Linked DNA regions of Homo sapiens: regions 1, 2, 4, 5 and 6 are each linked to region 3. The links are contacts of gene promoters, found by promoter capture Hi-C in blood cells and fetal thymus (Javierre and others, 2016). All regions are on one chromosome and are shown on one strand. Each heading gives the region's core, a stretch centred on a gene start or on the middle of the fragment in contact. The rest is flanking DNA. Distances are from core to core; before and after follow the strand shown.

Region 1 (3,515 bases), core at 68-2,567, 790 kb after region 3:
TTGTATTTTCTGTTTCCTCCAAATCTCTCTATGCCAGAAATCTATTTTCTTATGTCAACCATCAGCCCCACTACACTCCTCTTCAGTGGATTACAAAGTGGCTACAACTCACCAATTCAGTCCTGGTTCACTTATGACCATCTTGGAGCTCATCTTCCTAGATTTCTGCTTCACTCTAGCTCACAGTTCACAGCTGCCTGGCTGCGAAGGCTCCAAGAGGCAGGATCCCTCCAGAACTTACTCAGCTGAGTAAAAACAAAAGGCCAAGATCAAAAGCAAGTGATTGGCTAGGCCAGGTGCTATTAGGTGAGGAAGAATCTCTCCCTAAACATCTACCCTCAACAGACTGTGGCACCTAAAACAGAATACAGCAGACCCAAGGTTCTTTGTAGCAGAGCAGCAATGACGATACAGGACGAGCCCTTTTCCATTTAATCTACGCCGGGAGTGTTACTCTCAGGACACTCACTATGGAAATAAGAGCTGAAACAGAACGGTGTTCTCATTGCTTACATACTAGGCCACTTGATGGCATGGAACGGGAAGTCAACTCAGTTTTCCATTCCCTTACTGCCAAAATAAATCTTTTGTTTTCCCGACCATGCTTTGTTATGGGGCAGATTCTGGCAGGCACTTTATGACAAAAGCTACCTCGATATCAGGAATCTTAGGCCTTTCACAAAGAACCTCACATTTGAGAAGACTTGAGGTCAACTTAAGTGACATTTCACAAGATCACTTACAGACATCATCAGGACTACAAATCAGGCTTGATCTCTCATGTTCAGTACTTCTCCTGTGACCCCAGGCAGACTGATAAAGTGACCTGCGAGAACCTAATCAAATTTAGGAGTCGGTCTCTCGACACCGAACGGGCCCGACCGGCTCCCACTTAATCTACCTCTCACACTTCGACCCAGTGTGGAGCTGGGGGGGAATAGTCGAGGAAGGCAAAAGAAACGGCTGAGGGAAAGGGGACGCAAAGAGAGGGGAAACAAGGTTCCAGAAAAGCAGGTAAAAGGGCAAGCAAAGCAGGGGTAGGAGCCGCGCAGAGCCAGGAGCAAAGGGTCCTGGCCCGGCCGCCATGTTCCCTCCTCCCGCCCCTGCATGAGCACGCCCGCTGGCCCGGCAGCGCCCTCCCGTCCGCGTCTGGGCTGCAACACAGCCTTTCCGCCCACCTCATGGTCCGCGGCGGCTCTTGCCCAGGCCGCAGCCACACACCACACACGCTCCACCCCACTCCTCACATTGTCGCGCGCGCCCAAAAAAGACCATATTTAAAGGATGTGGCCGCGCCGACTCGGCCCTGCGTGATGACGTCTCAGCGACATAGTGGGCGGGGCCTTGCGTCTTGACGGCTGCTCCCCTCCTTTCCTCCCGCCACAAGCGCTCGCTGTGGTTCTGGCAGCGAAGTGCGAGACTGGGCTCGCCAGGCGGAAGTGGTTGGAGACTGCGTGTTTTCCTAGAAAGTCCTCGACCTTCGTCGGGGAGAGGAGGGGAGTGATAAATTGGAAGGCGGACAAGCGACAAGTGCGGTACTGGAAAGACCCAAACATACTTGGTTGTGACCTCAGGCAAGTTTCCTGACTTCCGTAACCCAAACTCCTCATATGTAAAATGGAGATGAAATTGTTACTGCTGCATCATACGGTTTTTTGGAAAGGATTAAATGAAACAAAGGAAGAAGCTGTGCTCTGCACAGTACCTGGCACATAGTAGGGCCTCATTAAGTGCTCCTTCACCTCCGCTCCACTCCCCATCCAGTTTTAGCTGTGAGTTCAAACACTAGTTTTGTTCTCATCCATTACGGAAAGATTTATTGACCGTAAACAGAGTACTTTGTGCTTGGTGCTGGGTACACATGGACTAAGACTGAATACTGATTTTTCCAGTGCTTTGGATCTCTGGCAATCTAAGACATTTACATTAAATACAATAGAAAGTAATAAACTACATAAGAAAGGTGTATAGATTGAGGTTAGAGGGAGAGGAATAGCTAGTGTGAGGGACAAAACGCAGTTTTGAATAGTATTGAGTACTTACATGTCAGTTGCTGCACTGAGCACCTGCCGTGTGAGCTCATTTGAAGAATGTGGGTATGTGGAATGAAGAGAAAGGGCGTTCTAGACAGACCAGCACAAGTGTCAAAAGACAAAAATTTGACACATCTAAAGATCTCAGTTGGCCTTATTGCGATTCTGGAATCAGGCAACACTTCATTCCATAAAATGGAATGAGTGTCCCAATGAGTGGAACAGAGGAGGTTGGCATTACGGACAGAAAAAAGGTCTGTAGAAAGTAGAAACAAAGAACAAAAAGCAGATTGATCATTTCAAAGTTACTTTCCTGGTAAGGTGGAGACAGACAGTACAATAGAAAGATAACTGATTGGTTAACATCAGGTTACTTCAAGTTACTCTTTGCTGTAGGGACTAAAACAGAGGAAATTCATTATCTTGCTGATTGAAAATTGAAACTGGCCTGTTACCTCTGTCTCCTGATTTCTTGGAGGGCCACATAACTCAGTTTCGGTGTGGTGAGCCTGAGTGATACCATTTTTATTTTAGTCTGGTCTCTTGGGGTCTAGTGCAGAAGTTCTAAACAATGGCCTCCTATAATTTTTTTTAATACAAGGAACTGCATAAACTTATTGCATAAACAGAATCTAGTGTGTGCTATTAGGGAAGCATGTTCTACATTTTATTTTAAGACAGAGTCTCCCAGACTGGAGTGCAGTGGTGTGATCTCAGCTCACTGCAACTTCTGCCACCTGGGTTCAAGCGATTCTCCTGCGTCAGTCTCCCTAGTAGCTGGGACTACAAGTGCATGCCACCACACTTGGCTAATTTTTGTATTTTTTTTTTAGTAGAGATGGGGTTTGCCAGGGTGATCTTTAACTCTTGACCTCAAGTGATCTGCCCACCTTGGCCTCCCTAAGTGCTGGGATTACAGGTGTGAGCCACTACCCCTGGCTGACATTTTAGACTGATTTAGAATATTGTTAGAAATTATGTTAATGTAAAAAATATGCTACAGGAAACCATAGGTAGTTTATTTTGCCTGGAATGCAAGGTCTCTGAAGAGTAGTAGAGGAAAAGGGGTTGGAAAAACTGGTTGAAGCTAGAACACGTAAGATTTTATAAGCCAGACTAAGGAAGTTTGACTTTATTGCATAAGAAATAAAATGCTAGGAAACAAACAAACAAAAAAGCTTACATAATGACACAATCAGAACTGGCTGGCTGTGCTTCAGGAAAGTTCACCTGGCAACCTACGGAATTCATTGAAGGGAGGAGGCCAGTTAGGAGACAGTGTTTGTGAATGCTTAAAAAAATCAACCACTACAATGCCTGGCACTGTGCAGATAGCATTTCTTTTTTTCTTTTTCTTTTTTCTTTTCTTTTCTTTTTTTTTTTTTTTTTGAGATGGAGTCTCCCTCTGTCGCCCAGGCTGGAGTATAGTGGGGCGATCTTGGCTCACTGCAACCTCTGCCTCTCGGGTTCAAGCGATTCTCC
Region 2 (3,491 bases), core at 873-3,372, 580 kb before region 3:
TCTTCTGCTCAAGACTGGTGTCACACCTTGTTTTTCATTCTTAAATCTTACATACATCATAAGATCATTTATTAGATGAATATTTTTTAATTAATACACTTAAATTTTATTTCAGTAGCTTTTGGGATATAAGTGGCTTTCTGTGATGTGGGTGAATTATATAGTGGTGAATTCTGAGATTTTAGTGTGCCCATCACCTAGGTAGTGTATATTTTATCTAATATGTAGGTTTCTATCCCTGTCTCCCCTTCCACCCTCCCTCTTCTGAGTCTCTAAATTCCATTATATCACTGTGTTTGCCTTTGTATATTCACAGCTTAGCTCCCACTTACAAGTGAAAACATACGGTTTTTGGTTTTCCACTCCTGAGTTACTTCACTTAGAATAATGGCCTCTAGCTCCATCCAGGTTGCTGCAAAAGACATTATTTTGTTCCTTTTTATTGCTGAGTAGTATTCCATGGTGTATATATACCACATTTTCTGTACCCACTCGGTCGATGGGCACTTAGGTTGGCAATTGTGAATTGTGCTGCTGTAAACATACATGTGCAAGTGTCTTCTTCATATAATGACTTCTTTTCCTTTGGGTAGATACCCAGTAGTGGAATTGCTGGACCAAATGGTAGAACTACTTTTTGTTCTTTAAGGAATCACCATACTTTTTTCCATAGAAGTTGTACATTCCTACCAGCAGTGTTTAAGCATTCCCTTTTCCCCACATCCACGCCTACACTGTTTTTTGACTATTGTTTTTTGAGGTTTTTTTTCTTTTTTAGACAGGGTTTCAATGTGTTGCCCAGGCTGGAGTACTGTGGCACAATCATGGCTCACTGCAGCCTCAGACTCATGGGATCAAGGGATCCTCCTGCCCCAACACACGGCCCCCCGCCCCCCGCCCCCCGCCCCCCTCCCAGTACCTGGGACTACAGGTGCTCACCACTACACCCGGCTAATATTTGTATTTTTGTAGAGACGGGGTTTTGCCATGTTGCCCAGGCTGGTCTTGAACACCTGGGCTCAAATGATCTGCCCAACAGGCCTCCCAAAGTGCTGGGATTACAGGTGTGAGCCACTGCGCCCGGCCTTTTTTTCTGACTTTTTAATGATGGCCATTCTTGCAGGAGTAAGGTGGTATCTCCTTGTGGTATTAACTTGCATTTCTTCGATGATCAGTGATGTTGAGCATTTTTTCATGTATTTGTTGGCCATTTGAATATCTTTTGAGAAATATCTATTCATGTCCTTTGCCCATTTTTTGATGGCATTATTTTCTTTCTTGCTGATTTGAGTTCCTTCTAGATTCTGGACACTAGGCCTTTTTCCGATGCATAGTTTGCAAATATTTTCTCTTAATCTGTGGTTGTCTATTATTTCTTTTGATGTGCAGAAGCTTTTTAGTTTAATTAGGTCCCATTTATGTATTTTTGTTTTTGTTGCATTTGCTTTTGGGGTCTTAGACATGAATTCTTTGCTTGGGCTGATTATTAGACGAACATTTATTGAGCACCAACCATATACGACAAACGATGTACTAGGTGTTGGGAATACAATGGAGAACTTACATGAATCACCAGTCACACAAATCTCTTTTATCTTTTTTTTTTTTTTTTTGCCTTACTTGAGAATTTGGGTTTTTGAGTAAACGCCATTATTCTCTCTTTTTTTAAGCACACTTTTGCATCTCAACCACCTAACACACTGCATCCCTGAGCAACCCGGAGGGGCCGGTTCCTGCACCCAGGCCAACACAACTTAAACCCCAACACACCAGAAGAGGAATAAAGGCCAACCAACTTCCGCCCACCCACTACAAACGTCGAGAGAAATTCGTAGATGAGGCCTTGTCAAAATTCAGAGGCGTCCTACGTCTGCTTTCCCAATGAGACAGTTCCTTTTTGTTTGTCTCAGAGACTGGGGTTTTTTTTTTTTTAAAAGACTGTAGGCAGAAAAAACACCCCAACCGGCTGTTGTGACAATCAAACGTGTCTAAGAAAATTCAGCCAATGAGAGTGCGAGAGTGCATCTTGTGTTGGCCAATGAGAACAGCGACCCGTGCGCAGGGCCGCCCAATGGGGCGCAAGCGACGCGGTATTTGAATCCTGGAACAAGGCTACAGCGTCGAAGATCCCCAGCGCTGCGGGCTCGGAGAGCAGTCCTAACGGCGCCTCGTACGCTAGTGTCCTCCCTTTTCAGTCCGCGTCCCTCCCTGGGCCGGGCTGGCACTCTTGCCTTCCCCGTCCCTCATGGCGCTGCTCCGACGCCCGACGGTGAGTGTGCCCGGGGACCGCTCTCAGAGGCGAGTCCGTCGGCCCCACAGCTCCCCTGTCGCTTCTCTCATCTGCTCCGAGCTTCTCCGTCCCAACCGGGGCTGCTTTTCTCTTCTCCGGAGCTCACTGCTTCGCCCGCGTCCCTGGCCCTGCGGCCGGTCCTCTCCGGCCCGCCTTTCCCCGTCTGGATTCCGCCCTCCCCTAACCCCTCCCTGCCCCGGGGTGGGAGAAGTGTAGGAAAGCGCTTCCGAGATGGCGCCTGTCAAGTGAGCCCCCAGAGCACTAGGCCTAGTACTCAGCGAGCGATCCCCGAGTGCTCTTCATTGCTAGAGAGTTATCTACTTCCACGTTCCTGGGATTTCCCTCCCCCTTTCTTACAACTCCTTGCCAACTAAGGGACCTGTGATGGCGGCTGGGAGGAGGACTGGAAGGGTTCTGTAGGCAGTAAAGTGTACGGCGTGTTTCATCAGGCAACTGCCAGGCTGTTTTTCAGATTGTTCACATTTCTTTTTGTATGAGTTTCCCATTTATTTCGGCACGCTAAGTCTTCCATGCTACGTTCACTAATAAATGGGTTTGTCCCCTTAAAAAATTAATTTCTTTACTCAAATGTAACAGAGGTTTTTGAATATAATTTGGACCAATGTGGCAGACTGAGAGAAAAGGGTCCAAATTCATTTATTTCATCCTTGCAGAGATCAAAGTGTTATGGTGTTTTGGGTATTTTTCCTGTGGGCTTGAATTGTACCGGGACCTACTTTTTTCCTTTGCCGAAAGCTAGAGGGCCCTGACACACCTGAGTTCCATCATCTTGGCTATAAGGTTAGATAAAAGCTGCCAATTTTCCTATCCAGATGAATTTAAATTGAGTCACATTACCAGGCTTCTACCCATAAGCATTACATTTTCAAACACTTTTTCAGATTGGCAGTTGCTGCTGGAAGAAATTGAAGTGTGACTTTTGAGAATCCTAATAGATTGAATACATTTAGCATTTAATTAATATCCTTTTGTGGATCTAAGTCCAACTGACAAGTAATTTTTTATAATAATGTATTCTATAACGTTATTTAATAGTCAAAACCTTTCTGTTCAGGGAAGGCTTGAGTTTCCCTGGCCCCTCTCTCTGCCTGGTAGATCCACTCAAACCCCTTGTTGGGAGTTTTATTAGAGTCGGGACCCTGAACTCTCAGGGATAGGACATGCTGGTTTTTTGCTTTTT
Region 3 (3,891 bases), core at 1-2,500:
GTTTGCAGAAGTGGATCTGTCATACTTCCGGTCTAAGCCCAGCAGTATTAGGCTGCACTAGAGAATATGAAGACTAGGAATAGAGTTTAGAGAAAATGTAAACCAAAAAGAACTAAGAATATGTGCAAAATGATCAAGAAACTAGTCTGCAGGGGTAACTTAATTGGGTAAGGTCAGTTGTAACTTTGAGGAAACATCCATTTACAAATTACAGAATTTGTTTCTACAATTGCAGAGATTCCTATAAAATGTTAGAAAAACTACATTTAATTGAAAATACGAAATCAGGTATTAGGTGAAATAGAGATCCTAATCAAGAGAAGGTGAGAATGAAAAAAGCAACACTAAAATGCAATCACATAGTTTATTCAATTAAATAAATAGGAGGCACCGTAACTATCTTGATGCAACACCGGAAAAGCTGTTTCGTCAAAGAGCTCACAAGACACAGACAAGTAACTCTCCAGCGGCATGAAATGCATCCAGAAATCCAAACCATTTTGCCAGGTATTTAAACAGAAAGGGTTGTGTCTAGATTCACGCGGGGACTCGGCTTTTGACGTACACACTCTGTATTTGGTTTAGCGTACTAGGGAAGATCTATTAAAGCCCTGATTACTTATGCTGCTTCCGTGTCTATTCCCCGCGGTTACGAGGCATACCAGAAGTCCAAGTTTCTTTGTTCTGTACCAGGACGGACGCTGGTCATAAATACTGAACCATCGTAGCCCAGCCACTTCACCCACACCAGGGTAAAAGGGTGGGGGAGCGGAGGAGGGGCAAGGTTCCATCCCGAGCACAACTACCAGAAACGGAAAAGCGACGGGGTGGGGGGCCAAACTGCCAAATACAAACAGGACCCAAGCCAAGGGCGGGGACCTAAGCAGGGCGGGGATCCAGGAAGCACCTCCCGAGCAGGTTCTATGGCTCCCCCTACCAAGGGTAACTCTCTGGGTTTCCTCTCCCCGGACGTCGTGGGCACGCGCCCGACAGACTTTCGCCCCTAGGCCGGTTCCCAGTCCAGCTCCGGAGCCACCGTGCCGAGTTCTCCCAGGCCGCACTCACCCCGGAGGAAGCCTTGGCCCCCTCGTCCTCTTCGCCCCTCCAGGCCGGCGACGTGGGGCTGACGGCCAGGTCGCAAAAAGCAGGGCCGAGCGGAGCCCGCTCCCCTCGGTCGGCGGTGGAGACCCCGGCCCAATCCCCCGGCCGCAGCGGTACGGCGTCGGCGGCAGCAGCTGACCCGGACACAGTGAGAAGCCCCGGCGGAAGTGATAACATCCCGACCTCCTCCGGGCGCGGCAGCCGGCGGTGGAGGCGGCGGGGGCGTGGCGGCGGCGGAGGCGTGGCGTCTTCTTGAAACCCACACAGCATCCCCCCAACCCCCTCAGACGTCACGGGCTAGCGCTCGCGCCTGCACTCGCGGGGTCGGCCTTCCTTGCCTGTGGGCGGACCCGTCGCGTCGACTCCTTATTGGTGGCGTTACTACGCCTCAAGGCGTTTCTTCCCTCTTTGCTGTTCGCAGGGACGCTGCCTGGTAGTTTCAGTTACTTTTGTTTTCTTTCTGCCTGCCTTTATTGATCATTACAGTAGGTGAAATTATCGATATCAATAATAATATTGTAATACAATAGGTGCAATTATCAATATCAATATTATTACAACAGGTGCAATTATCAGTATCATTACAATAGGTGCAATTATCAGCGATCAATAATGTGAATTATAAAATGGATGAAATAAGGGGAGGAGGTCGGGCGCGGTGGTTTACGCTTGTAATCCCAGCACTTTGGGAGGGCGAGGCGGGTGGATTACCGGAGGTCAAGAGCTCGAGACCAGCCTGGCCAACATGGTGACACCTCGTCTCTACTAAACAAACAAAAATTAGCTGGGCGTGGTGGCGCGCGTCTGTAATCCCAACTACTCAGGAGGCGAGGGCGGAGGCGGAGGCGGAGTTGGAGTTTGCAGTGAGCCGAGATCGTGCCATTGCACTCCAGCTTGGGCAACAGAGCAAAAACTCCGTCTCAAATAAAAGGAAAAAGGAAAAAAAAAAAAAAAGAAAAAGAAAAAAAAGAAATAAGGCGAGGAAAAATATCCGAGGCATCATTTTGGGGAGTTAGGCCTCAGAAGCGACCTTAGAGTTTGGTAATATTTGAGTGTGAAAAGCTTTACAGCAGTGCTTCTCTTCACTGGGGGAACGGTCGGTTTATTTTTTTCAATTTTCAATTAGTTTTTGACAAGTTAATAAAACAGAAAAATGAAAAGACATACAAAGTCCAAGTCAAAACTTTTTATCGTTAGAGTTAACAGCCATAAAATTACCTGCAAAATTGACATAGAGTTTTCTACTCTCTCTCTGTGAACCATTTGCAAACAGTTCTCAGAAGAGCCCAGGTCTATAGACCATGGTTAGAGTACTCAAGGTAAACTACTCAAATTAGACCATACTCAGCTGTAGAGTTTCAACCAAATGAGATTTGTTTGGAGAACATCATAGTCTCTCTCAGTTGGGCGTGCTGGCTCATGACTGTAATCCCAGCACTTTGAGAGGCCGAGTCGGTAGATCGCCAGACCTCAGGGCAACATGGCGAGACCCCATCTCTTAAAAAAAAAAAAAAAAAAAGAGACAGAGAAAGAAAGAAAGAAAAAGAAGCAAAGAGAAAGAAAGGAAGAAAGAAAGAAAAGAAGAAAATTAGGTGGGCTTGGTGGCATGCACCTGTGGTCCCAGCCACTTGGGAGGCTGAGGTGGGAGACTCTCTGGAGCCTGGCAGGCGGCGGTTGTAGTGAGCCAAGATCGCGCCACTCCACTCCAGCCTGGGTGACAGCGAAACCCTGTCTTAAAAAAAAAAAAAAGTCCCTTTCCAAAGTTTCATCTGATAAATCCATAGAAAGGCTCAGCATCAAGTATTTGGGTGATTCCATTGGGGTACGATCAGGCCTGAGGGGAACAGAAAAGCTCAAAATTTTAAATCATTGACTAAAAATGCAGCATTCTGCCTGGATTTCACATTGCTTTGGCAACATTTACCCACCATTGGTAGATTAAAGTCCGTCTCTTTGATAAAATGGGAAGAAAATAGTACCTACCTTATAGGGTTTTTGTGAGATGAATTCATATATATGTATTAGGACCTTGGTTGTCATATTGTAATCACATTTAAGTATTAGGTATTCTTTTTATCCTAGTCTAGCAATTTCACTAAATAGCTAGTAGAGAAAACAAAACTGATCAACAGAGCTTTAGCTAAACAACTACTTGGGCCAAGAAATTTCATCTTGATTTACAGAAGTTTTTGTAGTTTCATACTTTGCTTCTTCAGTTCTGCAATGTGCAGAATTCCCCACAGGGTGGCAGAAAATCACTGGAAATCATATATAGTTATGTGATTTCTTTTTTTTAAGATCTTCAGTTCCTTCTTCATTTTAGTAACTTTATTATTTAATAAGCTTGATCAGTGTTTGCTTTGGTTTCGAGTAAGCCATCCTATTACTTATCTTTTTATCCCTATCTTGTTAATTATCCATACTTATTGTTGAAACATTACAAACTACAAGTAAGCCAAAAAGATAATTATTATTAACATATTTATGTATAGCCTTTCAGATTATATATATATATATATTCACACACATATATATTTTATGTATAAATTGCACATATAAGTCTTTATAAAAATCAGATAATGTACTTAGTGGTTTATAATCTCCATTTTCTTCTTTTCATTTAAAATATGAGCTGGGTGCAGTGGCTCACACCTGTAATCCCAGCACTTTGGGAGGCTGAGGTGGGTGGATCACCCGAGGTCAGGAGTTCGAGACCAGCCTGGCCAACGTGGAGAAACCACGTCTCTACTAAAATTACAAATATCAGCTGGGTATGGTGGTGGGCACCTG
Region 4 (4,038 bases), core at 725-3,224, 740 kb after region 3:
AATACAAAAAAAAATTAGCCAAGCCTGGTGGTAGGTGCCTGTAGTCCCAGCTACTCGGGAGGATGAGGCAGGAGAATCGCTTTAATCCAGGAGGTGGATGTTGTGGTGAGCTGAGATCATGCCACTGCACTCCAGCCTGGGCAACAGAGCGAGACTCCATCTCAAAAAAAAAAAAAAGCTTATGCTTTACCACATTAACCTTGTCATCTGGAGCAATGACACTGACTTTTTTTCTGGAAAACATACCTATCTCTTTGCTTTCAGCAGTGTATTTCAACACTCAGCTTGAATCTAGAGATAGAGGCATCTGTCATCAAACATGTTATACCACCAAATTTTTTCTTTTATTAAACAAACTGATGGTTGCCAAACAAGAAGTCAGTAATCTGACTTTTCAGAGGCAGGGAGTTTTTATTTTTGGCTTCTGTAATGGAATTTCACCAAGTTTTTAAAGGTATTAACTTTATTAACCTGTAACATTCATCATTTTAAAGGAGTATATAAAAACTGTCAAAATGGGTCAGAAACAAAGTTTGCGATGCTCATAATCATCTTCAGCAGTGGCAACATTTAACTTTTTGAGTCAGTCGCAACAGACTGGCAATATAACTAACACAATACATAACGATAAGTGTTGTTCTTGATAAAAAACCAAATTATTTTTCTATTTACAATTTTTAGAAAAGGTTTAATGTAAAAATATTTTTCTTCTTTATATATTTCCCTGCCATGATAATGTTAAAACATATCAAGATCCTCCTCAAACTTCAAGGGTGAAAAGCATACCATTCCATTTTAGTTGAAATATTCCTTCACATAGCCAACACATTTTTTCAAGGCACTCTAGCTACTACAGGAAAAATGTTCCTCTTGCCTACTGATTATTTTCCCTCAAACTTATCTAAATTAAACACTGTTATAACTGTTTTTTTAAATTTAGTTTTCCATGGTACAGTCCTCAAGTTATTTTTCTTTTATGTGGAGCCACTCCTTCAGTTTCAACTTGCTGAGCAGGCAAGCAACTGCTTTTGGTTTCCATGGAAACTGGATTCCTGTGGCTGCGTGTAGGCATTCTCGTTCCACCAATCTAAGAGATGAAGCAGAGAACAGAATAGCTTAATGTATCTACAACATACCTATATACAGTCAACTCTGTAGTATTTATACATGTATTAACCACCTTGCAAATAAGCTCTTATATATTTTTCATCTCCAGCTAGCTGGCTGTTTCTAAACAAGTTTTAATCTGACACATTTTTAAGTACTAAACTTTCAAATAACCATCAGAGAAGTTGATAGATCTGAGTAGATGGGGAGCAAAGTGAATGGGGAAACTATTCTCTGTGTTAAATTTATTAGAGGTTGAAAAGATAAATTAGAAATCAAGGGAATGACAGGCCTTATGTGTGATGTGTTTGAAATAATTAAACTGAAGGACAAGAAAAAGGAAGGAGTAATAGGGAGGGAGCGAAAGGAAATACAAGAAGGTCAGAGGTGGTAAACAGGGAGAAGAAATTACATGGACAAACAAGAAAGATAATAAGAAGGGTAGGGAAGATAAGGAAAGAAAATTGAGGAAAGAGATGAAGATTAAGAAAAAGGGAAGTAAAAAAAAAACAGTAAAAGTGTAAGGAAGTTTCAAGACAAGAACCCAAGTAGCAGGGAAATCCTGAAGGGCTGAAAGAGGAGAGCAAGAAAGAAATAAGAAAAGGGGAAGAAAAAACTGGAAGGGGGAATACAGAGGATGGGGGAAGGAACTTTGCTGTGGTTCTACCTTCAAGTCTACCCTTCCTTACCCTCACTTTCTAGCTCACACAGTCAAAGAGAGGTGGTCTATTTTTTTTCTTTTGAGACAGAGTCTCGCTCTGTCACCCAGGCTGGAGGACAGTTGGCGCGATCTCTGCTCACTGCAACCTCCACCTCCTGGGTTCAAGCGATTCTCCTGACTCCAGACTCCTGAGCAGCTGGGATTACAGGTGTGTGTCACCATGCCTGGCTAACTTTTGTATTATTAGTAGAGATGGGGTTTCACCATGTTTAGGCTGGTCTGGAATTCCTGACCTCAAGTGATCTGCCCGCCTCAGCCTCCCACAGTGCTGGGATTATGGGCATGAGCCACCGCGCCCAGCCAAGGTGGTCTATTCTTAATACAGAATCCCTTGCTATGTAGTCATGTTAAAGATGTGATCTATAAAAACAGTAATGGAGAAGGCCAATCTCACAGAGAAGGACCAAAGCTGTATAGCCTGAAACTATTTCCACAGAACCTGCCCATATCTGCCTTTATTTTCCCTGGCCACCTTGTTCTCCTCTATTTCTTCATATCCCGTCCAGTCAATTTCAGGCCTGGGACTGAAGGGTGATAGTGTAACTCCAAGCACTCTCTCTCATAATGCTAGCCCAACAGAAATACTATTGGCATTTGCTCCAAGGGGTTACAGACTCACTGAAAAAGCTCGGACTCTGGCTTCCTTTATTTAATATCTACTGTCCCTTTAAAAAGCATTTTTTTTTATTTACATTTACCTGACCAGAAAGGACAAATTGAGTACAGATTTGTCTGTGTGAATCTGATGAAATTTTGTAATATACTGATTAGAAAAGTGCTGCGACTTTTGGATGATCTATACCACTCCTCACTCAGCTGGTATTTCCTATAAAGGTATATTGACCACACTAATTCTATCTGTTAAAATTTTTGAGAAAAGCAAGCATTTTGAAAACCTCCACTGCAAGACTGTGTGTGTCTGAATGTGTAAAATAAATGTTTATTACAGAAGATGTAGAAAGAAAAAAGGGATAAGTGTGAAGCTGCTGCAAGAAAGACTGGAAGCAGAAGTCAAAAGTAGCCCAGGAAGCAAATGGGACCCTTAAATACAATCTCTACTTGATGCAGTAGGGAGGCAGATGCAGGCTCTACTGGCATATCTCTCAGGGTTAGTACCAAAGGCACTATACAAGGATGAGATCAGAGTTCAAGTGGACTCGTGACTATGGGATCACATTAGAGGCAGAAACGTTTGAACAAATTTTTACACCATGAAAATATGCAGATGATTTCTATTTCATATAGGTCTTACTTCCCTGGTTTCCTGAAAGCTGTCATCTTACCATTGCTGCTAAAACTAGAATCCATATTTGCACTTAGATTGGTTGGGACTAGAAGGCCCAATCCCATGGCCTAGCTAGGAGGTAGGGAAGAAGATGGGGTAATTCCTATCAAACACAGGGCTAGATTGTGGGGAGGTGAGTAGATCACCAAAAACTTTCCACTGGCTTTCAAAAATATATCAAACCAACTATTAGTTATCTAATTGTCCACTGTACCTAATGCTGGGCTCTACAACAACCTGGGCCTGGATAATCTCGTTAAGTATTTGTTCCTGGACTGAATGCATGAAGCACACTCCGTGATACACATGTAATTGAACTGTTGTAATTATGTGGCCAAATTGTGAACATATGGAATTTCTCCTTTTCCAAATACAGTCACATTTTGGTCAAAATGAACTACATATACAACAGTGGTCCCAAAAGATTATAATGGAGCTGAAAAATTTCTATCATCTAGTGATGTCACAGCTGTTACAACATAACAGTGCAATGTATTACCTTGTCTACGTTTAGATATCCAAATACCAGTGTATTACAACGGCATACAGTATTCAGTACAGCAACATGCTGTACAGGTCTGTAGACTACCTAACAGCAATAGGCTATACCATACGGCCTAAGTGTGTAGTAGACTACACCCTCTAGGTTTGTGTAAGTAAGCTTATGGTATTTAAACAAAGACAAAATTGCCTAGTGCTGCATTTCTCAGAATGTATCCCTGTCGTTAAGTGATACATGACTACAAATTGTGTTATTGTACTAAAGCACATTCTAGACATTATTTAAAAAAAATCAAATCATTAAAGTATTTCCAAAGCATAAAGCATTCAACACTATTTTAGTGTCAGTCTATATCAATAAGGAAAGTATATTACTCATTTTTTTAGAAACACCTTGCACACACATAATACATTTTTCCTTTCA
Region 5 (3,883 bases), core at 13-2,512, 640 kb after region 3:
AAAATAAATTAGACAAGCACACAGAAGAAAAAGAAAATGATGTGCAACGGTTAAAATGTTTGAGAGCCTTACATGTGGCCAGCGAGCTCAGCAAAGGACACTGGTTTCTTTTTCTCTCTTCTTTAGTCTTTTATTCCCTACTCTCTGTTCTCCTTGCAGCAAAACAAATATTTTTCCTACCACAAATATTTTTAAGGTGCTACTTTTCAATTAACGATGTTTTATTTCTTTTGTGTGATGGGGTTTTTCTTTTTCGCACTGAAATGATAAAGACACTGAAGATGGCAAAGGGAAGCCCTAGGAACAGCCTTGCTACAATCCATCAGCTGCGATAATATCAAGATGAATATATTGTCAGGAATCTGTATGTAGCATTTCATTTATCCTACCCACTCTGCTAAGAGCGGCTCCCCCGGGGATTACATTATTATTCAAGCTTCCTGGACTCACTCCAAATGCATATTGCAACTACAATTCAAAGGGAAACTTATAAAAGGTGATAGGAAATAGACCTTCTACAGAACATTTTTTAAAAATTAACCTTTTCAGAGTTTAATTCCATCCTATATACCTATAAATAGACCAGCTTTCAGGAACTAAAAACTAATCCTATAGTAATAACACAAAGCTCAATTTCTCATTCCATACGATCATTAATATTACTTTAAAAATCACGAGAAATCTCTTCAACTTCTTAAGCATTGTAATTCATTTCTGTACACCAATTCAAGAAACCTCATTAGTTTAGGTGGCCTTTTTGCAATACCATCCAAGGCACGCAAATATTTGGAATTTTTACCTTAGGTCAGAGTTTAAGAAAAAAATGATTTCTCATTTCCAGAAAGGATTTATGAATGTAGAAAAATGCTTTTGTGACAGTGACATGTTTGTGTTACCTAATTCACAAATAAAATAAGCTATATAGAATATATGAAGTAAAAATCAAAAGGAAAAAAGAGAAAGGATTTTATATAAATGGTGGATAATTTTTAAGTAAAAAAAAATCTTGTTACATCCTTAACATTTTTAAATCTTGTTACATCCTTAACATTTTTTTCTATAACCCAGTTTCAATACTCCAATCAAATGTAAGATGGAAGAGCTTTGATTTGAGAGAAAAAAAATCCTTTGAACATTGATCGACATGTGATTTGTGCAATTATTTAACCTGGATTTAACTCCCTCTACTCTATGCTCAAATCACTTGATTGACTGAGATGCTGTTTCCATTGAGCTGGGTTTACAATTATCTTTAAACAAGCGAAACTTCAAAGGCTGCTCAATGGGTATTTTCCGTTCTTCATGAGAACTCGTAAATGTATAACCTGCATATAAACAAGTCACTCTACCTAATTAAATGGAATCTCTTCCTCTCTATTAAAAATTTAGAAGTGCTGCCTGGGTATAAACATGTCATCTCAGAAGGTGGGAGGAGAGACCCTCTTAACGTCCGTGAACAACCAGCTGAATCTCCTTTAAGCAAAGCCACGTTAATAATAGCACAGACACATAAATTATTCTAATTATTTTATTATCAGTAAAGATTGGTTAAACGGAAAGGGTGTTCATTGTTGGCAATTATGCCCTCAAGTTTTATCTGACTACTAGGGAAATGCAGTCCAGGGCTTTAATTTACTTCAGAGACCGTCACATAGCTTCTTGCCCACTTTCTTTTTCAAACATCTGTATCCTAGAAGAGGTAACAGGTAATGGAGCATTTTCGCTGATGGCTGCGTCTAGACTGGAAAATGTTTTTTTGTTTGTGTTTGTTTGTTTGTTTTTGTTTTCTTTAATCACATTTCTAGACTTAGAACTCTTAGGAAAATGATCCATAAAAGGTCTAGTTTGGAAATTGAAATGTTCTTAAAGCGTTTTGAGTTTGTGTTGTTTCGTTTGATTGTTAAAGGAAGAAAAGGTTCTTAAAGTCCTTGTCCCTTTTTTGAAAACTGATGGAGAAATTATAAAGCACCTCCAGCTAATGAAAATAGTTTACCTTGAGCTCAGGATTCACTGCTATAGCTCCCAATCTTCTTTTTTTAAAAAAAAGAAAAACTCTTTTCATAAAGTTTGAAACAATATTTGTGGCATTAAGCTTTATATCATAAGACCAGGCAGAAATTGCAGCATGTAAATGTTTGAAAAGGAGACGTAGACTTTTGAGCTGTGAGGTGCTTTGTTGGAGCGTCCTCTTGTGGTCAAATGTCATCAATACAACTTTAGAGTCACTTTTTTTTAAAGGGCGGTTTTGACAAACCCACAGTAGCGCAATGTTGACACAAGTTGCAATTCAGGATTGAAAGTTTGGTATCTTGTTAGATTTTGTATCCTCTCCTATTCTCCAGAAACACCTTAAAATGCATTCACTCAAGCAAACAGGAATTCATGAGAGCTCTTAAATATACAAGAACTCTTAAAATACACAAAAATTATGCACAAATGCAAGGCAATGCTCCTTACTGATCTGGGAACAGAGAAAGTCTACCTCATGAGGTGGCATCTCTCCCCAGGTGTCCTTCAACTGGCCATGGGAGGGACAGTTTTTTCCCATCAGCACCACTGTCAGAGGCCAATAGCATGAGATGTAGTGGCTGCAGGCTGGGTGGATCATGTCACCCATCACTGCCCCTGTGACGTTGAGTGCACCCATCTGCAAGGAGAAGGTATATCCCCAGTGGAGCAAGGCTCCCAGAGGCCTCAGTTCTTAGATGGAAGTGAGTATGGCTTTTCTCTGATACCTGTTCCAATAGGGAATTCAAAGTGAGGGGGAAATATTAAAGGGAGTTATTATATTCAAGTATTTCCATAATTTGTTAACTGTAAAATATATATCATTTTTATGGCTTCAAAATAATCTACTTAGAAGCCTCACTAAAGATAAGGATCTTTGTGAAAATTCCTGCCTTTGACCAGAAATCTGGGTTAAAACAGATTGAGAAATGAGAGCTTCTCTTTGATACCTCACATTTTTAGGTCTTGAAGGGACTCTGGGCATTATAGATTTCAAACTTCTCATTTTACAGATTAGAAAGAAAACAAAGAGGCTGGGCACAGTGGCTTATGCCTGTAATCCCAGCACTTTGGGAGGTCAAGGTGAGCAGATCACTTGAGGCCAGGAGTTCAAGACCAGCCCGGCCAACATGGTGAAATCCCGACTCTACTAAAAATACAAAAATTAGCTGGGTTTGGTGGCAGGGGCCTGCAATCCCAGCTACTCAGGAGGCTGAGGCAGGAGAGTTGCTTAGACCCAGGAGGTGGAGGTTGCAGTGAGCCAAGATCACACCACTGCACTCCAGCCTGGCTGACAGAGTGAGAGAAAGAAGGAAAGAATGAAAGGAAGGAAGGAAGGAAGGAAGGAAGGAAGGAAGGCAGGCAGGCGGGAGGGAGGGGGAGGGAAGAGGGGGGAGGGAGGGATAGGGGATGTGGGGAGAGAGAGAGAAGAAAAGAAAAGAGAAAGAAAGAAAAGAAGGCACAATGAGGGATAGGGACCTGCCCAGGGTCTCCTGGTAGAAAGCAGCAAACTTGGGATGGGAAGGGAGTGTCTCAGCTGTAGTTAACATGGCCCACCCTCCTTGGCTCCATCTTGCCAAAGAGCTTTCTGGCATCCAATTCCTAACACTAGCCTGAAGTTCCCAATTTGCCTCAATTGCCCCTACACTTCACCTAAAACTTCTGTCCTGCCACTGATTGGTCCATCCTGGCTCTTTCCTCATAATGATAAATAAATGATCACCGTATTCTTTAAGATAAGACTAGCCGCATTTGAAAATCACATAATATAAAGCATCCTCTCTGAAAATTTCTGGAATTCTCATTCCTTGTTTATGTACCTGGATTTAACTCCCTCTACTCTATGCTCAAATCACTTGATTGACTGAGATGCTGT
Region 6 (3,524 bases), core at 934-3,433, 670 kb after region 3:
GCCTCCCGATATACTGTAAAAGACGTGGGGGCAGCCATTCCAGCGGCAGCTCCTCAAAGTCACCAGAAGGAACCAGAGGCCGCAACACAGTTGGAAGTGAGGTCATGAAACTTTCCTATGCAAAACACTTCATCTAATACTGAGAAAATATCTCCTTGTCCACACCAAACTCGGACGGTGTTTAATGGAAGTGATAGGAAACTAACACCCCCGAACTGGCCCCCTTGAATTCCCTGCTGCATGTAATTTCTTAAGGGTTGGATCCACTGTCACCATGAACACAAAAATTTGTCAGAGGTCTGGTCAGCACCCATGTATGTAGACAGACACCCCAACTCAATGTGTCTTTTAGCGATGCTTCCTCGAGCTAAACTTCCTACAAATCATGGCTGATGACTGAAGCCTCCTACTGAAATAATGTTCTTCTTTTCGCTTTTTTTTTTTTCTTCTCTCTCTTCTTTCTTTCCTTGCTTTCTAAGAGCACCTGTGGCATCTACAAAGCTTAGCCCCTACAGGTACTTGCAGGCTACGAGAGGTGATTTGCAGCATGCTTCAGAGACAACCATGCTGAATCATTCGTAGATGTCAAAAGTGTTAGAACTGACATGGATCTTAGAAGCCACCTGGCTTTCACCACCCATTTTCTCCTGCTTCCCAATGTCCCGGGAACACACGGCACTTAGGAGGGGACTGTAAAAGCAGTAGCTCCCAATTATAACACCAGTCTCCCAGTTTGGAACTTTGAGGTTAGGTAACTCCAAACTTAGCCTACCCTTGACACTCCCCTCTACCCATTCTCTATTCAAACCTCAAATAGCATTTGGGCACCTACTGACTTCTTCCACTTCTATTCTAAACTCCTTATGGGCGTTCAACTTCCTGTTTCTCACAATGTCCAGCACAGAGCTTTGCATTTAACAAAAACTAAACAAAAACTCCAGAAATGTATGATAAATCAAACATAACCCTTCCCTGTAAGGAGAAGCCTCGCATCTGGCGTCTGCTAGAACATGAAAGAGTCGTAAAAGCAGCTGTCTCTCCCAGCTCCTCTCCACTCTGCCAGCCGGGCCTAGGTTCTTCAAGCTCATCACCTGGGCAGCTGCAGCCCGTATCCCTAAAGAACTCTGCAGCACAAATCTTCCTTATTTCACAAATTTTCTTCTTTATTTCACAAACAGCCGATTGTTTCACTTGAAACTATCTCAAGTAGTTTACATATCTTTTATAAAAGATACATAATTCTCCTTGGCCTAAGGCTGAGAGTCAAGAATTAGTAGGATGATGAGCTGTCCCCAGCACACAGCAAAGCCTGTGAGATCTTGGGACCTCATCATAATTCTGGTAATATCTTCCCTCCTAGAGGGTATGTGGGAGCTTTGTTCTACATATATCTAATCTAAAACCAAGATCTAGGTTTTGGGTGTGGTGGCTTATGACTGTAATCCCAGCAGTTTGGGAGGCTGAGATGAATCATTTGAGTCCACATGGCAGAAGTTGCAGTAAGCCGAATCACACCACTGCAATCAAGCCTGGGTGACAGAGCAAGACCCTGTCACAAAAAAAAAAAAAAAAAAAAAAAAAAAAAGTTTCAGGCTTCTATGTGTGTGTGTACACACCCAAATGTATTCCAAGACCATACTCTGTGACAGCTGAAAGATCAAATTTTTTGCTTGCTATCCAGAGATGAGCCTTCTGCTCCACTGGGAACTTGGCTCTACCAGCTCACAGACCCCTTTGGGAAGCTGCAGAAATAAAACACTCCCCTCTATGCCTCACTACACAAGATTAATACACTTCTAGTGAAAGAAGAATTTTAATGCACTTGAGATGAAAGAAGCCAGATGCTTTCCTATTTATGTCCTTTCCAACCATTTAGAGTGCGGGGGATGGAAGTGTAGCAAGGCTTGACCTGCAACTCCCAGGACCCTGCTGGTCATGTCAATCCCAAGGGCAGAAATATCTCTTCTAGAATCCTTCCAGCTCACCTCCACTGTGGCTACAAGTGAAAGCCATAAGTCAAACGGGAGCTGCAGGAAGCCACACTTACTGCACTGTCCAAGAATAAATCAAAAGCTTTTAATAGCAAGAAGTTAAAAATAAAGCAGCACGTCCTTAAAAATAAAATTTCCTACAACTGACAAAATAAAGGACGAACACGCACTGGTTGTTTCTTAACCACTAGTGGACAAGCAAAGGGAAAAAGCACACAAAGACCCTTTAAATAGTAGGAGCATGGCATGTTGAAGATAGCTTTGCAGACCAAATGAACTAACAACTAAGCCCACTCGTTGCAAAAAGCTTAAGAATTCAAGTGTATATTTTTAAAATGAGAGGAGCTTGTTAGGATCAACACTCAGTGGAGGCTAGTATCCTAAAATTAAATTAGAAACATCTTATCAAGAACCAGCAGAAGTCATAAAGATGAAATGAGTTGCTACATGTACAAAACTGAGCACAGTGCCTGGCCCAAAGTAAGCACTCAATAAATGGTGCCTGTTGTTGTTATTGTTGTTGTTCCCTATTCCTAACTTTCTATTCCCAGAAGCTCTCCCTCCAGGTAGCCTGGGTTGGGGGAGGGTACTGTCCTTACACAGGAGCTCCCAAGCACTCTAAAGCGAGCGTGACCATCTGCGCTCTGCCTCCTCTCAGATCAACGGTGGCATGAGATTCTCACAGAAGCGCGAACCCTACTGTGAACTGCACACGCGAGGGATCTATGTTGTACACTCCTTATGAGAACCTAATGCCTGATGACCTGAGGTGCACGCGCGCGTGCACACACGCACACACACATGTGCAGTGACTCTTACAAGGATTTAAGAAGAAAATCTTAGATATCCAAGGGTCCCACAAGTCTTTTGCGCATGAGAGCCACAATTCATGAAAAGAAAAAGCAATGTCTGAGGAAACAAAAATTCAACAAGAAATGCCCTCCATCCCTGGAATTGCCTGTACCTTTTTGGTCCTTCTCTGGTAGGCGAAGGCAATATCCTGTCTCTGTGCATTGCTGCGGTTGGTCAAAATGTTGACAATGGTGACCTCATCCACACCTATGGAAATACAAGTTGTTAATCGTTACTCAGTATACTCTAGTATTTTGGGCTTACATAGAAGGTGTCAAGCAGACTTTTTCAAACTGAAATTTATATACTGTTTTCCAAACTGAAATACCCAGACACCAAGATTTGTTCTATCTCTTTCGTCAGCATCCTCTACCCAATGTGTACACTCTCTTTCCTTTTTTCTTGAGAGCCTCAAACCTCAAGCTTAAATGGACCTTTTAAATACTTGTGGTTTAAAAACTATTTTATTCATAAATTGGTTTCTGGAATCAACAGTAGGAGGTGCATATGTGGGGCTTTGGCAGTCAGATGGAACAACAGAGATTTAGTAGGATTTTAAATGAAGGTCCCCAAATTGCCATTTAACTCGGGATTTAATAGAGAGTAACTGCAAACTGAATTAATAGAGATAATTATTTATACTTATTGCAGGATTATGGCTATATAAGCAGCTAGGTATAA

Evidence for each region. Contacts are between HindIII fragments. The CHiCAGO score rates a contact against its expected background, and 5 or more counts as called.
Region 1: the fragment with the promoter of ICE2 here is called in contact with the fragment with the promoter of BNIP2 in region 3 in 4 of 17 cell types (M2 macrophages, erythroblasts, M1 macrophages and 1 more); the score reaches 8.2 in M2 macrophages.
Region 2: the fragment with the promoter of CCNB2 here is called in contact with the fragment with the promoter of BNIP2 in region 3 in 1 of 17 cell types (monocytes); the score reaches 5.7 in monocytes.
Region 4: a fragment that was not itself captured here is called in contact with the fragment with the promoter of BNIP2 in region 3 in 1 of 17 cell types (M2 macrophages); the score reaches 5.3 in M2 macrophages.
Region 5: a contact is called between a fragment that was not itself captured here and the fragment with the promoter of BNIP2 in region 3, in 1 of 17 cell types (endothelial precursors). The highest score is 5.2, in endothelial precursors.
Region 6: a fragment that was not itself captured here is called in contact with the fragment with the promoter of BNIP2 in region 3 in 1 of 17 cell types (M2 macrophages); the score reaches 5.5 in M2 macrophages.

The regions. Positions count from the first base shown.
Region 1 is chr15:60,477,825-60,481,339 of GRCh38, forward strand. It overlaps ICE2 (interactor of little elongation complex ELL subunit 2), which reads right to left and starts at 1,318. Exons shown (of 16, transcript NM_024611.6): 1 at 1,179-1,318; 2 at 113-245. The coding sequence starts at 153. It overlaps RORA-AS1 (RORA antisense RNA 1), which reads left to right and starts at 1,354. Exons shown (of 6, transcript NR_120342.1): 1 at 1,354-1,574. RefSeq lists enhancers at 150-269, 592-1,119. The HindIII fragment of the contact is 13,398 bases long and covers 1-3,209 here.
Region 2 is chr15:59,103,024-59,106,514 of GRCh38, forward strand. It overlaps CCNB2 (cyclin B2), which reads left to right and starts at 2,123. Exons shown (of 9, transcript NM_004701.4): 1 at 2,123-2,269. The coding sequence starts at 2,246. RefSeq lists an enhancer at 1,646-1,935. The HindIII fragment of the contact is 2,621 bases long and covers 1,391-3,491 here.
Region 3 is chr15:59,688,070-59,691,960 of GRCh38, forward strand. BNIP2 (BCL2 interacting protein 2) reads right to left here and starts at 1,251. Exons shown (of 10, transcript NM_004330.4): 1 at 1,066-1,251. RefSeq lists an enhancer at 957-1,605 and a silencer at 1,019-1,528. The HindIII fragment of the contact is 5,510 bases long and covers 1-2,161 here.
Region 4 is chr15:60,422,676-60,426,713 of GRCh38, forward strand. It overlaps ICE2 (interactor of little elongation complex ELL subunit 2), which reads right to left. Exons shown (of 16, transcript NM_024611.6): 16 at 1-1,087. The coding sequence ends at 959. Among named protein-coding and RNA genes, the nearest start is that of ANXA2, 27 kb to the left of the region's middle. The HindIII fragment of the contact is 3,596 bases long and covers 177-3,772 here.
Region 5 is chr15:60,324,828-60,328,710 of GRCh38, forward strand. No RefSeq gene overlaps it. Among named protein-coding and RNA genes, the nearest start is that of ANXA2, 71 kb to the right of the region's middle. The HindIII fragment of the contact is 1,656 bases long and covers 435-2,090 here.
Region 6 is chr15:60,361,474-60,364,997 of GRCh38, forward strand. ANXA2 (annexin A2) reads right to left here. Exons shown (of 13, transcript NM_004039.3): 4 at 2,956-3,050. Among named protein-coding and RNA genes, the nearest start is that of ANXA2, 35 kb to the right of the region's middle. The HindIII fragment of the contact is 225 bases long and covers 2,072-2,296 here.